Linked DNA regions of Homo sapiens: region 1 is linked to region 2. The links are contacts of gene promoters, found by promoter capture Hi-C in blood cells and fetal thymus (Javierre and others, 2016). All regions are on one chromosome and are shown on one strand. The core of a region is centred on a gene start or on the middle of the fragment in contact, and the rest is flanking DNA. Distances in the headings are between cores, read along the strand shown.

Region 1 (3,546 bases), core at 32-2,531, 500 kb after region 2:
CTGTGCTTTCTATCTCACCAGTTATCTTTCTCCAAAGAGCTTCCTCTGCAAAGAAGCTTTGTATATGAAGACCATGTGGGGGCTGAATCAAGACCAAGTTTCACAACCTAAAAGTAGTTCACAAAGCTTCCTTGCCTCTATTCTCTGCAAATCTGTAAACTCTTCAGCTGACCCAATTTCTCTCTTTAGCCTTCAGAGATTATTTTATTTTATTTTATTTCATTTCATTTCATTTCATTTTGACAGAATCTAGCTCTGTCGCCCAGGCTGGAGTGCAGTGGCACCATCTTTGCTCACTGCAACCTCCCCCTCACAGGTTCAAGCAACTGTCCTGCCTCAGCCTCCCGAGTAGCTGGGATTACAGGCGTGAGCCACCACGCCCAGCTGATTTTTTTTTGTATTTTTAGTAGAGACAGGGTTTTGCCATGTTGGTCAGGCTGGTCTGGAACTCCTGATCTCAAATGATCCGCCTGCCTTCACCTCCCAAAGTGCTGGGATTACAGGCGGGAGCCACCACACCAGCCAATTCTATTTTTAATTTTATTGAAGAAGCGCTGTACTATTTCTCACGGGGGCTGCACCATGTTATGTTCCCACCAGCAATGCACAAAGATTCCAATTTGTCCACATCCTCACCAAACACCTGCTATTTTGTTTTGTTTTGTTGGTGGTGGTGGTGGTTTTTTGTGTTTGTTTGTTTGTTTGTTTTTAGTACAGGGAGAGTATCCCTAATCCAAATATCTGAGCTCCAAAAGTTACAAAACCAGAACTTGAGGGCCATCATGGCACTTAGAGAAAATGCTCATTAGAGCATTTCAGACTTAGGATTTTGGGATTAGGGCTGCTCAACCAGTAAAGCAAATATTCCAAAGTCAAAAAAAAATTCTGAAATCTGAAACATTTCCGGTCCCAAGCATTTCAGATAAGGGATATTTAAACTGTAGCCATCCCGACGAGTGTGAGGCGTCTTCTCAAAAGTCTTGCACACTATTTTGTCTGCTTTGATCTGTCATGTGTTTCCTACCACTTTGAAAGCATAACGAATTTTATCCGTATTCATTTATGATGAGAGGCAGTCCAGGCAGTGCAAAGGGCACAAATCGTGGTCCCACAAGTCCTGGCTTCTGACCCGGATCACTGTGAGACCCTGAGCAAGCAAGAACTTGCTCCAGGCCTCAGTTTCCTTGGTCTCTGGGGGAAGCCAGGATGATAATCAGCCATGCTCCAACCCCTCAGCTGAAACTCAGGCCTGGATGCATTGTAAATGGATTTCCTCTTCCACAGGTGAGCCGCTGAATTCGATTCCTTCTTCCTTCCTTCCTTCCTTCTTTCCTTCCTTCCTTTCTTCCTTCCTCTCTTCCTTCCTTCCCTCTCTCCCTCCTCCCTCCCTCTGTCCTTCCTCCCTCTCTCCTTCCCTCTCTTCTTTCCTTTTTTTTCCTTTTTGAGATGGGGTCTCACTGTGTTTCCCAGGCTGGAGTGCAATGGTGCAAGCAAAGCTCACTGCAGCCTCTGACTCCAGGGCTCAAGTGATCCTTCCACTTAAGCCTCCCGAATAGCTGGGGCTACAGGTGTGCCCCACCACACCCGGCTCATTTTATTAATTCTTGGTAGAGACCAGGTCTCTCTCTGTTGCCCAGGCCAGTCTCGAACTCCTGGCCTCAAGCGATCCTCCCACCTCGGCCTCCCAAAGGACTGGGATTACAGGTACGAGTCACTGCGCCCAGGCTTTTCTCCCTTTTGACTCATTTTGAGGCCCCCGTCGTAGGGTACACGCCCTGGGAATCGGGGGTCTTCCAGTATAGGGAACCACCGAGATGCGGGCCCTCCGAAGTCCTAGAGAGGGCGCCTCGGCCGCCGGCACCCGCCACACTTCCGGCCTTTGTGGGCCGCAGCGACGGCGGTCTGCGGCTGTCGGTTCTGTTTGTTGCTGTCACTGCTGTTTGTTCTTGCCAGCGGCTAGGTGTGTAGTTGCTTGGGGCTCCTAGCACGAGGCCTCTGTCCCCAGGCACGCAGCGCCAGTCTCCGGCTGTTGCGCCCTGGGCGCCGCCTCTCTCCGGCCCCCCTTTGTTTCCTGAGCCAGCTGGGAAGACTAAAAGGGTGGGTCCTGGGAGCGGCCCATGGTTCGACCCTTCTTTTCAGGCATCCTTGGAGCATGCAGGCTGCAGATTTCAGGCCGACCCCGCTAGCACCAAAGTCCATGCTGCTGTCCGTGGCAGCTCAGTTTGAAAATGGCCTGGTAGAAAGTCCAGGTTGTTGAACTGGTAAACGCACTCTGCATCCCTTGACTTGAAGTTTTCATTATTCTCTAACGTGCACTTACCCCCAGTAGAGAGCAAATGAAGATTCATACAAGAAATACTGCCTTTCCCAAAATGGGACATTCCAGCAAGGGTGCCGGTACTGACTTGGGTTAGCTTAAGAGAGAGATGCAGTTGAAAAGCTTGTCGGCAGGGATCAGGGAAGACTTCCACTAAGTGGTGTGTATTCAAAGGAGAGGTAGGAATTGGTTAGGTGGACGACATGCTCCACCATCCAAGAAGAACATTCCAGATGGAACTCAGGCAAAAGCACAAAGTTCGAAAAGTCAGAAGTGCAGGGGAAGTGGTAAATATTTCGACACCATCCAGATAAATGGTTGTTTTTGGTTTTTTGGGATGGGGGACAGGGTCTTGCTCTGTTGCCCAGGCTGGAGTGCAGTGGCACGATCTCGGCTCACTGCAACCTCCGTCTCCCGGGTTCAAGCGATTCTCCTGCCTCAGCCTCCCCAGTAGCTAGAATTACAGGCGCCTGCCACCAAGCCCAGCTAATTTTTGTATTTTTAATAGAGACAGGGTTTCGCTATGTTGGCCAGGCTGGTCTCGAACTCCTGACCTCAGTGATCCTCCCACTTCGGCCTCCCAAATTGCTGGGATTACAGGCGTGAGCCACCTTCCCCGGCCCCATCCTGATAAATGTTTATTCTCTGTCGGGGAGTGGTGATTAAGATCTGTGTGACCACAGATCACTTCTGCTCAAAATAGCCAAGCCCCTTAAAAAATAAAGGTTTGTTTTCTAGAAATAGTATAGCAGGAGAACTGACTGCCACTTATTGGCCAATTTATTTAACCTTTCTGACTTTCAAATCCCTTGTTTCTAGGGGCATAGCAATAATATCTTGTAATAGGGAGGAATGGATTAGGTTAATTTGTAGAAAGCATCCACCACAGTGTGTGTGGCAGGTAGTATTAATACGTCGGAGGTTTATCATTGTTTTTACTGTTAATAATCATTAAAAATGTGATAGTATCCCTTCCCATTATGGAGCCTCCTTCTCTGTACAGTAAGCAATGTGGAAAGAGGAAGAGGAGTAAATTCCAGAAAGTGTTAAGAAAGATGTATGTAGAAATGATAGCAACCTATTCAATTTTCACAAAATTTGAATAGGGCATCATACTGTCTCTTACTATACCCATAAAATATCTTGTAGCATTTTTATCTGAGTGAAAGCAAGCATGATAATGTATCTTTTAAAAAATAAATATACTTTGTAAATCACTTTTTTTTTTT
Region 2 (3,105 bases), core at 349-2,848:
ACCGCAATAAACCAGCAGAGCAACAGCACTCACTCGGCGGAACTGTGCTCCCGGAATCCTTCTGCGCACTCTCTCTGCAGAAGTCCCTCCGTGCTGGGTCCAGGCGCTCCCACTCCTCCCAGGTTAGAGACACAGCCGTGTCCTCGAAAGTCACCATCCCCTGGAACAACACAAGAGCCCCATTCAGTACCTGCTGTCCCTGTACAGCACTAACACTCTTCTTGAGTCTTGTACCGACAAGGGAGTTTGGAGAGATCAGAGATAGAGGCTGACATTCTCTTGTAATCCTGAAAAGCCTTTCTGTGGACTATTTACACTAATTTTGGAGGTAGGTAGGAGCAAAATATTTCTTTAACTTATATCACTGTGATGTATGGGAATGGAAATATGATACAGATTAAAAGTAAACAAGGCCGGGCGCGGTGGCTCACGCCTGTAATCCCAGCATTTTGGGAGGCCGAGGCGGGCGGATCACCTGAGGTCAGGAGTTCGAGACCAGCCTGGCCAACACAGTGAAACCCCGTCTCTACTAAAAATACAAAAATTAGCCGGGCGTGGTGGCGGGCGCCTGTAATCCCAGCTACTCGGGAGACTGAGGCAGGAGAATCGCTTGAACCCGGGAGTCAGAGGTTGCAGCGAGCCGAGATCGCGCCATTGCACTCCAGCCTGGGCAACAAGAGTGAAACTCCATCTCAAACAACAGCAAGAACAACAAGAAAAAAAAAAAAAAGAAAAGAAAAAGAAAGAAAACCAGTAATCCGTGTTCGCTTTATGCTGAGGTCTATAACAAGTCATTTCCTGGATGGATCTGTCACTGTGGCCTACAGAAAGGAAGTCCATACACACCCCAATGTTCACACGAAATGTAATAAGGAAGTAAGTTCCGAAACGCAGAGCACCCCTAAACGCCTATTTTCCACACTCCCACCTCCAGAACAGGCCTTTCGCTTCTCACCTGGGATGAGGTTCCATCGAGCGCTCGCTGCAGAGCCCGCACCACGGCCACCGCCTCCTCCCCGCTCTCTGGGCAGTGCTCTCGCACCCAGGCTTGAAGCTCCTCGGGCAGGATGGTGAGGAACTGCTCCAGCACCAGCAGCTCCAGGATCTGCTCCTTGGAGAGCAGCTCGGGTCTCAGCCACCGACGACAGAGTTCTCGGAGCCGGCTCAGCGCCTCTTCCGGTCCAGCCACCTCCTGGTAACGCAGCTGCCTAAAGTGCAGTCGAGAAGTTTCGGGGTCCGGCGAAGCCGCGGGATAGTTGGGCTCCCAACTTCCGGGTGAGTCTTCCTCCACTTTCACGGGCAAAAGTCCGTCGCGTTGGGACGGCGCCGCGTCCTTGGACCTCGCAGCCATCACCCAGGGTCCCAACTCGGCGTCACTGCCGCGCCTCTGGGCGGTCAAGCTGGAATTCATCTTTCTCCGGCATGTGCTGCCCTTCCTGGAGTCTTCTTTTCAGGTGAAGAAAGAGCAAACCCAAGGAACTCATCAGCCGTCAACACCCTCCGGTCCCAAACACCGGGCCCCACCACACCAGGCCCCTCTCCACACTCTCCTTTCCTCAGCTTTGCGCCTACAACTCTCTCGGTCAAACAACCGAAAACATCCCGTGCCGGAAGCGCGTCATCGAGGCCTTGCGGCACCTTTCCCTGCATTTCCGGGGCCTCTCTAGGCGCCTGATGGGGTGAGGTGCATCTCGCTGGTTTATCGTCCTAGCCCCGCCCGACGCAGAGGGTCTTGACGGTTTCCCGCATCCCGAGGAAATACGGGCGTCCGAGCCGGTGGCCGAGCTCCGGCAAGGGCGGGAACCTTCAGGATTAAATAGACAGGGTCTGGCTCTGTCGCCCAGGCTGGACTGCAGTGGCGCGATTTCGGCTCACTGCAACTTCTGTCTCCCGGGTTCAAGCAATTCTCCAGCTTCAGCCTCCCAAGTATCTAGGACTACAGGTGCGCGCGACCACGCCCGGTTTATTAATTTTTCTGTGGGGATGGGGTTTCATTATATTGCCCAGGTTGGACAAAGTTGTTTTTTTTTCTTTTTTCAGGCGGACTCTCGCTCTGTCGCCAGGCTGTCTTAGCCTCCTGAGTAGCTTGGACTACAGGCGCGCGCCACCATGCCCGGCTACTTTCTGTATTTTAGTAGAGATGGGGTTTCACCATGTTGGTCAGGCTGGTCTGGAACTCCTGACCTCGTGATCCGCCTGCCCCGGCCTCCCAAAGTGCTGGATTACAGGCGTGAGCCGCTGCGCCCAGTTGGAAAAAGTTTTGTTTTTTTTTTAAAACTAAGTGCTTCCATGTACATCAGATGTTAACGACTTTGATCCTAACAAACAAACAAAAAAGATGAGGAAATTGAGGCTCAAAGATGTGTCCTGGCCTGGCTCAGTGGCGTATGCCTGTAATCCCAGCATTTTGGGAGGCTGAGGGGGGAAGATCGCTTGAAGCCAAGAATTGGAGACCCCAATGTCTACAAAAAATAAAAAATTAGCTGGGTGTGGTGGTGCACACCTGTAGTCCCAGTGAGAGGTGAAGCTAGTTGGACTTCCTGGGTCCAGTGGGGACTTGGACAACTTTTCTGTCTTACAAGAGGTTTGTAAAAATGCACCAATCAGCGCTCTGTAGCTAGCAAGAGGTTTGTAAAATGCACCAATCAGCGCTCTGTAAAATGGACCAATCAGCAGGATTCTAAAAGCAGCCAATCGCAGGGAGGATGGAAAAAAGGGCGTTCTGATACGACAGAAACGGACATGGGAGGGGACAAATAAGAGACTAAAAGCTCCCACCCCAGTCAGCGGAGGCAACCGGCTGGAGTGCTCTGCCATGCTGTGGAAGGTTTGTTCTTTCGCTCTTCACAATAAATCTTGCTGCTACTCACTCTTTGGGTCCGTGCCATCTTTAAGAGCTGTAACACAGTGAAGGTCGGAGGCTGCATTCTTGAAGTCAGCGAGAGGATGAACCCACTGGAAGGAACCAACTCAGGATACACCACTTACTTGGGAGGCTGAGGTGGGAGGATCCTTTGAGCCCAGGAGGTAAAGACTGCAGTGAGATATGATCGCACCAGTGCACTCCAGCCTGGGTGACAGAGCAAGACTCTGTCTCTAAAACAA

What was found. The method cuts DNA at HindIII sites, captures the fragments that hold promoters and counts their contacts. A CHiCAGO score of 5 or more calls a contact.
Region 1: a fragment that was not itself captured here is called in contact with the fragment with the promoter of ZNF394 in region 2 in 1 of 17 cell types (erythroblasts); the score reaches 6.9 in erythroblasts.

Annotation. Positions count from the first base shown.
Region 1 is chr7:99,995,827-99,999,372 of GRCh38, forward strand. It overlaps LOC105375423 (a long non-coding RNA gene), which reads left to right and starts at 1,249. Exons shown (of 3, transcript NR_159960.1): 1 at 1,249-1,284. RefSeq lists enhancers at 1,607-1,696, 1,707-1,826. The HindIII fragment of the contact is 2,314 bases long and covers 125-2,438 here.
Region 2 is chr7:99,498,683-99,501,787 of GRCh38, forward strand. ZNF394 (zinc finger protein 394) reads right to left here and starts at 1,599. Exons shown (of 3, transcript NM_032164.4): 1 at 956-1,599; 2 at 34-160. The coding sequence starts at 1,411. RefSeq lists enhancers at 39-707, 930-1,209. The HindIII fragment of the contact is 23,896 bases long and covers 1-3,105 here.